Regions from separate parts of the Homo sapiens genome. Here region 2 is linked to region 1. The links are contacts of gene promoters, found by promoter capture Hi-C in blood cells and fetal thymus (Javierre and others, 2016). All regions are on one chromosome and are shown on one strand. The core of a region is centred on a gene start or on the middle of the fragment in contact, and the rest is flanking DNA. Distances in the headings are between cores, read along the strand shown.

Region 1 (4,510 bases), core at 752-3,251:
TTAGCCGCGCGTGCTGGCGGGCCCCTGTAATCCCAGCTATTCAGGAGGCTGAGGCAGGAGAACCCAGGAGGCAGAGGTTGCACTGAGCCAAGATCAGGCCAGTACACTCCAGCCTGGGTGACAGAGGGAGGCTCTGTCTGAAAAAAAAAAAAAAAAAAAGATTGTGGGAAGGCAAGAGTATAAATAGGGCACTCACAGTCACTGACTGACTGGTTTATACCAACGGAGGCAGTAAATGGTCAGGTTCTGGACAGATTTTGAAGGCAAATCTTGCAGAACTTGCTGATGGAGTACATGTGGGATATGAGAGAGGAGTTAAGGATCTTAGTAAATGATGTTGCTTAGTACATTGTTGTCATCGGAAGAGGTGATCAAATATACAGTCAAAAAATGTAGAAAAAATAGTTTTTTTTCTGGATTTTGTTATTCGTGGTATTTGTGAGCTAATAAAAATGTTTGTAATTTTTCTCATTATAAAAGGTTCACTTTTATATCTAATATTGTATTTGTAATTTTGGATTTTTTTTTTTTTTAGACAGTCTCGCTCTGTTGCCCAGGCTGGAGTGCAGTGGCATAATCATAACTCACCGCAGCCTCTACCTCCTGGGCTCAGTTAGGTGCGTGCCACCACACCTGGCTAATTTTTCTGGGTTTTTTTTGTTGTTGTTTTGCTTTGTTTGTTTTGTAGAGACAGGGTCTAATTTTGTTGCCCAGGTGATCTCCAACTCCGGGGCTCAAGCAACCGGTCGACCTCGGCGTCCCAAAGTGCTAGGATTTCAGGCATGAGCCACTGTGCCTGGCCTTGATTATTTTAAAGAGGGCCCCCAAATTGAATAAACGTCAAGTCTCCACAAAGCCTGAATTCAACCTTGCTTCTAGCCCATACTTGGGTTGTAATTTAAAATTAACGAAACATTTAAGAATTTTGCTTCCGAAAACAGTGTGCACGAAGTGAATTGTAAGCCTAATATAATATTAAGAATAAACTAAATTTGGGGATAAAAAGATCACCTTGGGGCTCACGCCTGTAATCCCAGCACTTTGGGAGGCCAAGGGATCAACCGAGCTCCAGAGTTGGAGACCAGCCTGGGCAACATGGCGAAACCCCGTCTCTACCGAAAAATACAAAAATTAGCCGGGCGTGGTGGTGCGCGCCGGTAGTCTTAGCTACTCGGGAGGCTGAGGTGGGAGGATCACTTGAACCCAGGAGGCGGGGGTTGCAGTGAGCCGAGATCGCGCCACTGCACTCCAGCCTGGGCGACAGAGCAAGACTCTGTCTCAAAAAAAGAAAAAAAAAAAGGGATGGGCGCGGTGGCTCACGCCTGTAATCTCAGCACTTTGGGAGGCCCAGGCGGGCGGATCACCTGAGGTCGGGAGTTCAAGACCAGCCTGACCAACATGGAGAAACCCCGTCTCTACTAAAACTACAAAATTAGCCGGGCGTGGTGGCACATGCCTGTAATCCCAGCTACTCGAAAGGCTGAGGCAGGAGGATCGCTTGAACCCGGGAGGCGGAGGTTGCAGTGAGCCGAGATCGCGCCATTGCACTCCAGCCTGGGCAACAAGAGCGAAACTCCGTCTCAAAAAAAAAAAAAAAAAAAGATCACCTTGGGCTAGCCTCCCAAATGTCTTCCAAAACTTCCCACTCATTCTCCTTCCCAGTTTTTCTAAATCTACCAAATGCACCCAACACTTCTTACGTTCCTTTTAGCCAGGTAGGGATTACGCGCATTTTTAAAGACCTCCTTAAAAGTGAAGGCTGTAGTACCGTCAGGACTGCCTAGCGCTCACCCAGAAGCTGCTTGTCTCCGAGGCACTAAGAGGGGCGTGGCCATGGGCGTGGCTCGCCGGGCCGGCGGAGTGGGCGGAGCCTAAAAGCTTCCCCGCCCGGTCAGACTCAACACATGCGCCCAGAGGTTTCTAGTGGAACGAGGTGTGGATTGTGAGGTGACTCTGGCCGCTTACTTCCGGTTCCTAGCGATGCGCATCCGGGTCACGCTAACGCCGCGGTTTCCTCCGCTCGATTGGTTCTACTGTGGGTCTGGACTGATCTCCATGTCCTGTTGTGGGGCTTTTACAGCCTTTGGGTGAGTCTCAGCTGCCAACAGGGTCTGAGCGCAGCCGGGCGAGCACAGCGTGAAGGGGGATGGGTCTAGAGTTCTGCCTCGGTCCTTGTGGGTGGGAGTCTCTTCGCCTGTCCCTTGTCACTGCAGTGCTTCACTCACCTCAGCCCTTTCCTTCACGCTGGCCTCGCCTTATTCACCTCAGCTTAGCCTTCTCGCGCTTCCGTGCCTCTGTCGCCTCGCTGTTTTTCCTCAGCCTCATCAGTCCTTTTCCAACCTCGGTTTCTTGCCTTACGCCTCAGCGCTTCTCTCAGCCACTGCCTCTCCTTTTTTCTCCTCCTCCCTTCTTTTAGAACCTCTTTTCCCCTACCCCTGATCTGGGATCTCAGCGTTCTTTCACCTAGCGAGACGGCCCAGCTTCTCATTGTGCTCACTCTTCACCACGAGAAACTGAGCCTCTCCCTAGGGTCCTAGTTCCTTGTCCCCCAACTTTCTTCAGCTTTGATCCTTCCTCCTGGGACCAGTAGGTGACAGTGCTTCTCCTGGGGTTCTTCTGCCTGTCCTTAGCTAGAGGAGAGCTTTGCCAAAGCCCCGAAATGGGAAGACTTCCCCAGCCTGGGGGAAGTTTTGCCTTAAGGCGCCGGGTTAGACTGAACTCTGGTAGCTTCCATAGTTAGGGTACAACAAAGGCGTTCCTAGTTCTTCGCTTTACCTCAGTTTTGGGGCTCTCTCAAGAGCAGCTAACAGGTGGCAGGCACACGGTACTGCTAGCAGTTGGGCTGGCGCGATCTTGTTAATTGACAAGTCATGAAGAAGTTCTGTCAGTTTTGTGTTCCCATGAGAATGGATGTGCACAGCTGAGGCAAAAACGCCAATATTTTGGGACGTTCAGCTCTGTTTTCGGCATGGACGCTTCTTACAGGACACTTGTGATGATAGAGGACAGAATTTGTGGAGAGATCATTAGCCCCAGATTTATGAATTTATTGTGTTGTTTCCGAAAAGTGGTCTGCTGAAGAGTTCACTATAGTAATTTCAAAGTAATCTTTAAACTTAGTATGCACATATGCATTTTTTCATTTTTACTGTATTAAGTTTTCTATTTGTCTTCCTCTTCCTTCATTAGCCAGACTTTACTTAGAATTACATTACTTAGAAGTACATTACTTAGAATATTCTTCTAACTTTTGTATTTTTTTTTCCTTACCATTTCCACCTTTGTAGTAAAACTATCATTTTCTCATTTTGAGATTTAGGGCACCTTTCTTAAATTTCCCTAGAGGTTTAAAGTCATTTATAACATGAAGGAATTGCATTTAATAATGGTTAGTGCTCCCTTTCCCAAATTTTGTGATCTAGAGTATAGGCTTGGGTAATCTTTATTTTTTCCCGATGTTTATAGTGTATATCTAGCACTTGATTGCAGCGGTTTTTGTGTCATCAGTTTCTGTAATCTATAAATTGTGCTTTAAAATGTAGTACTTCAGTATGAACTTAAATACAGCTTTGAGCACCTGCTTATCTTTTGGCTAATTAGCTATAGAAAAATCTTCATTATATGATACATATACATATAAGAGTGTATAGTCCTTGGCTTATTCCAAAATTGGGCTCTCTTCAGCTGTTTTTAGCAAAGGACTTTGGAGCTTGGCCATGTTAGTCCTAGAAGCCACGGAGAAGGACCCTTCTGATTGGCTTTCAGGACTTATCTAACTGCTAAGTGAAGCCTCTTTGAAAGTTTCTTATGTGTACCTCCTCCCCACTACCTAGCTCTAGCTTCTGTCCAACCTGGCCTATTTTCCATCCTTCAAAACAAACCCCAATGTGTATGGCTTACTCCAGCTGCTTCCTTACCTTCAGGTTTGTGGGCTTCATTTAAGCCATGGGAATGCCAGCTTAATTAATGCAGATTAAGATAAGAACATTAAACCCCAAAAATGATGGGAAATCACTCTGTCTTCAAAACAATAGAAAATAATAAAATCTAGTTATAAAGATTATATACCATTGTCACTAGTAAGAAGTGGCACTCTTATTTACAAAACATAAAGAAATTAGGGTTTAGGTCTGGCATGGTGGTTCACACCTATAATCCCCAGCACTTTGGAAGGCCAAGGCCAGAGGATTGGCCAGGAGTTCGAGACCAACCTGGGCAACATAGACAAAATTAGCTTGGTGTAGTGGTGTGCGCCTGTAGTCCCAACTACTCAGGAGGTTGAGGTTGGAGGATTGCTTGAGCCCAAGATTTTGAGGTTACAGTGAGCTGTGATCACATCACTGCGCTCCACAAGGCAACAGAGTGAGACTCTCTTAAAAAAAAAAAAGAAATTACAACTTAAACAGTTAATTTCCAAGGTCATTTTTTTTTAAGTCAAGAAGTCCTATACATGCTCTCAAGAGTAGCGAGTGTTAATTCCATTAAAGCTGTAGGCTGGAAAGCACAATAT
Region 2 (4,510 bases), core at 1,501-4,000, 230 kb after region 1:
ATCTGAGTGCCTGGCTGTCTCCCTCTAGGTGAGCCTCTTGTAGTAGCTGGGGTAGCAGGGGTGGTGCACTTCCATAGGCCCAAGTCATAGACGTCTGATCCATCCAAGTTGAATGAAGCAAGTCCTCACTGCCATAGTTTGCTCATTTGCAAAATGAAGGGTCTAGACAGAACCTCCCAGGTCTCTTTTGACTCTGAAATTCTGACCTATATTTAGTAGTGGGCATATTTTAGGCAAACGGTCATCAAACAGCTGATCCTGGGCCAGGATCCCCTGGGGAACGGGCCGTTCAGTCAGTAGATGTCTTTCTCCACAGGATTTGCCACCGTCTCCCCCCCGGGGAGGGGAACATGGGTCTCCCTTCCCTTCTCAGCAGGTGGCCCACCAGTAGGCACAGGATTTCGGGGAAACCAGCAGTCAATTCTCATCCGGGGTGGGCCTGTGTCCCAAGATAGGGACAGGCTGTGTCCCTCAGCAGCACTGTGCTCACATGAGTATGAGGCCACTGCTGATCCTGGGAGTGAACAGAAGGGGCTCATCCATCTGTATTGTCATCCAGAGCTAATTAGGGTAACAGGCAGTTGAGCCCCATCTTGGAGTGCTCATCTCTGAGGGCACCTAAAACATAATTGGAATCAGAAGTATGGCGCCAGCTAAGCCAGGTTTCCACACATACATGCCTCCCCAGTTCTGCTTCCGCTTAACCGGGCCCTTAAAGTACATGAAATATCAGCCGGGGGCCATGGCTCACGCCTGTAATCCCAGCACTTTGGGAGGCTGAGGCAGGCAGATCACCTGAGGTCAGGAGTTTGAGACCAGCCTGGCCAACATGGCAAAACCCCACCTCTACTAAAAACACAAAAATTAGCTGGGCATGGTGGCTGGTGCCTGTAGTCCCAGCTACTCGGGAGGTTGAGGCAGGAGAGTCGCTTGAACCAGGAAGCGGAGGTTGCAGTGAGCCGAGATCGCACCACTGCACTTCAGCCTGGGGGACAGAGTGAGACTTTTGTCTCAAAAAAAAAAAAAAAAAAAAAAAAAAAATCCTTGCAGGTATGTATATTCTGTTGTGCCTTCTTTGAAATGCCAATCCAAGTTTCACTCTGCAACTCAGATTCTGAAAGCAAGAATGCATGGTGGCTCAGTGGCTCACGCCTGTAATCCCAGCACTTTGGGAGGCCGACGCAGGCGGATCACGAGGTCAGGAGTTTAAGACCAGCCTGGCCAATACAGTGAAACCCCATCTCTACTAAAAATACAAAAATTAGCCAGACGTGGTGGTGCGTACCTGTAATCCCAGGTACTTAGGAGGCTGAGGCAGGAGAATTGCTTGAACCTGGGAGGCGGAGGTTGCAGTGAGTCGAGACCGTGCCACTGTGCTCCAGCCTGGGTGACAGAGCAAGACTCTGTCTCAAAAAAAAAAAAAAAGAAAAAGAAAAAAAATGCATGGCATAACCTTCTCATCAGGAAGGACTTCATCTCAGCTATATCTAACATACTTTAACACACTTCCAGTAAGTTGTTCAGTTTGGACATCTTTTAAAGAACTACAAAACAGGCCAGACTCGGTGGCTCACGCCTGTAATCCCAGCACTCTGGGAGGCCAAGGCAGTTGGATCACCTGAGGGCCGAAGTTCGAGACCAGCCCGGCCAACATGGTGAAACCCCGTCTCCACTAAAAATACAAAAACTAAAGGGTGTGCCACCTATGGACCAAGCATATCCCCACCTTAAACTCTGGATTCAGACTAGAGTTTCAATCCTGTCTTCAGTACAGGGGGCTCATAGGGAAGTTTGTTTAGTCTCAGTCTCAGTTTTCTCATCTATAAAATGGGGATAAAAACAGAATTCCTCTTGGGGCTATGAGAATTAGATGACGTGCTGTAAATGGATACATGGTAGGTAGGTAGGCAGGTGCTTAGTGATTGTTCACCACTACCAACAGTACCATCTTCACTAAAACGAGAGGAAGGTATTGTCCTGATGAGGACACTCATTTTTTTTTTTTTTTTTTTAATTTATTTTTTTATTGATAATTCTTGGGTGTTTCTCACAGAGGGGGATTTGGCAGGGTCATGGGACAATAGTGGAGGGAAGGTCAGCAGATAAACAAGTGAACAAAGGTCTCTGGTTTTCCTAGGCAGAGGACCCTGCGGCCTTCCGCAGTGTTTGTGTCCCTGATTACTTGAGATTAGGGATTGGTGATGACTCTTAACGAGCATGCTGCCTTCAAGCATCTGTTTAACAAAGCACATCTTGCACCGCCCTTAATCCATTTAACCCTGAGTGGACACAGCACATGTTTCAGAGAGCACAGGGTTGGGGGTAAGGTCACAGATCAACAGGATCCCAAGACAGAGGAATTTTTCTTAGTGCAGAACAAAATGAAAAGTCTCCCATGTCTACTTCTTTCTACACAGACACGGCAACCATCCGATTTCTCAATCTTTTCCCCGCCTTTCCCGCCTTTCTATTCCACAAAGCCGCCATTGTCATCCTGGCCCGTTCTCAATGAGCTGTTGGGCACACCTCCCAGACGGGGTGGTGGCTGGGCAGAGGCGCCCCTCACCTCCCGGACGGGGCGGCTGGCCGGGCGGGGGGGGCTGACCACCCCCACCTCCCTCCCGGACGGGGCGGCTGGCCGGGCAGAGGGGCTCCTCACTTCCCAGTAGGGGCGGCCGGGCAGAGGCGCCCCTCACCTCCCGGACGGGGCCACTGGCCGGGCAGGGGGGCTGACCCCCCCCACCTCCCTCCCGGACGGGGCGGCTGGCTGGGTGGGGGGCTGACCCCCCCACCTCCCTCCCGGACGAGGCGGCTGGCCGGGCGTGGGGCTGACACCCCCACCTCCCTCCTGGACAGGGCAGCTGGCCGGGCGGGGGGCTGACCCCCCCACCTCCCTCCCGGATGGGGCGGCTGGCCGGGCGGGGGGCCGACCCCCCCACCTCCCTCCCGGACGGGGCGGCTGGCCGGGCAGAGGGGCTCCTCACTTCCCAGTAGGGGCGGCCGGGCAGAGGCGCCCCTCAACTCCCAGACGGGGCGGCTGGCCGGGCGGAGGGCTGACCCCCCCACCTCCCTCCCGGACAGGGCGGCTGGCCGGGCGGGGGGGCTGACCCCCCCACCTCCCTCCCGGACGAGGCGGCTGGCCGGGCGTGGGGCTGACCCCCCCACCTCCCTCCCGGACGAGGCGGCTGGCCGGGCGGGGGGGCTGACCCCCCCACCTCCCTCCCGGACGAGGCGGCTGGCCGGGCGTGGGGCTGACCCCCCCACCTCCCTCCCGGACAGGGCGGCTGGCCGGGCGGGGGGGCTGACCCCCCCACCTCCCTCCCGGACGAGGCGGCTGGCCGGGCGTGGGGCTGACCCCCCCACCTCCCTCCCGGACGAGGCGGCTGGCCGGGCGTGGGGCTGACACCCCCACCTCCCTCCTGGACAGGGCAGCTGGCCGGGCGGGGGGCTGACCCCCCCACCTCCCTCCCGGATGGGGCGGCTGGCCGGGCGGGGGGCCGACCCCCCCACCTCCCTCCCGGACGGGGCGGCTGGCCGGGCAGAGGGGCTCCTCACTTCCCAGTAGGGGCGGCCGGGCAGAGGCGCCCCTCAACTCCCAGACGGGGCGGCTGGCCGGGCGGAGGGCTGACCCCCCCACCTCCCTCCCGGACAGGGCGGCTGGCCGGGCGGGGGGGCTGACCCCCCCACCTCCCTCCCGGATGGGGCGGCTGGCCGGGCAGAGGGGCTCCTCACTTCCCAGTAGGGGCGGCCGGGCAGAGGCACCCCTCACCTCCCAGACGGGGCGGCTGGCCGGGCGGGGCGCTGACCCCCCCACCTCCCTCCTGGACGGGGCGGCTGGCCAGGCGGGGGGCTGACCCCCCCACCTCCCTCCCGGACGGGGCGGCTGGCCGGGTGGGGGGGCTGACCCCCCCATCTCCCTCCCGGACGGGGTGGCTGGCCGGGCTGAGGGGCTCCTCACTTCCCAGTAGGGGCGGCCGGGCAGAGGCGCCCCTCACCTCCCGGACGGGGCGGCTGGCCGGGCGGGGGGCTGACCCCCCCACCTCCCTCCTGGACGGCACGGCTGGCCGGGCGGGGGGGCTGACCCCCCACCTCCCTCCCGGATGAGGCGGCTGGCCGGGCGGGGGGCTGACCCCCCCCACCTCCCTCCCAGACGGGGTGGCTGCCGGGCGGAGACGCTCCTCACTTCCCAGATGGGGTGGCTGCCGGGCGGAGGGGCTCCTCACTTCTCAGACGGGGTGGTTGCCAGGCAGAGGGTCTCCTCACTTCTCAGACGGGGCGGCCGGGCAGAGACGCTCCTCACCTCCCAGACGGGGTCTCGGCCGGGCAGAGGCGCTCCCCACATCTCAGACGATAGGCGGCCGGGCAGAGAGGCTCCTCACTTCCTAGATGTGATGGCGGCTGGGAAGAGGCGCTCCTCACTTCCTAGATGGGATGGCGGCCGGGCAGAGACGCTCCTCACTTTCCAGACTGGGCAGCCAGGCAGAGGGGCTCCTCACATCCCAGACGATGG

What was found. The method cuts DNA at HindIII sites, captures the fragments that hold promoters and counts their contacts. A CHiCAGO score of 5 or more calls a contact.
Region 2: a contact is called between a fragment that was not itself captured here and the fragment with the promoter of EYA3 in region 1, in 6 of 17 cell types (endothelial precursors, M0 macrophages, M2 macrophages and 3 more). The highest score is 12.4, in endothelial precursors.

What each region holds. Positions count from the first base shown.
Region 1 is chr1:28,086,101-28,090,610 of GRCh38, reverse strand. It overlaps EYA3 (EYA transcriptional coactivator and phosphatase 3), which reads left to right and starts at 2,001. Exons shown (of 18, transcript NM_001990.4): 1 at 2,001-2,087. RefSeq lists enhancers at 2,062-2,131, 2,342-2,401. The HindIII fragment of the contact is 6,678 bases long and covers 1,881-4,510 here.
Region 2 is chr1:27,852,596-27,857,105 of GRCh38, reverse strand. No RefSeq gene overlaps it. Among named protein-coding and RNA genes, the nearest start is that of THEMIS2, 18 kb to the left of the region's middle. RefSeq lists an enhancer at 274-568. The HindIII fragment of the contact is 5,873 bases long and covers 1-4,510 here.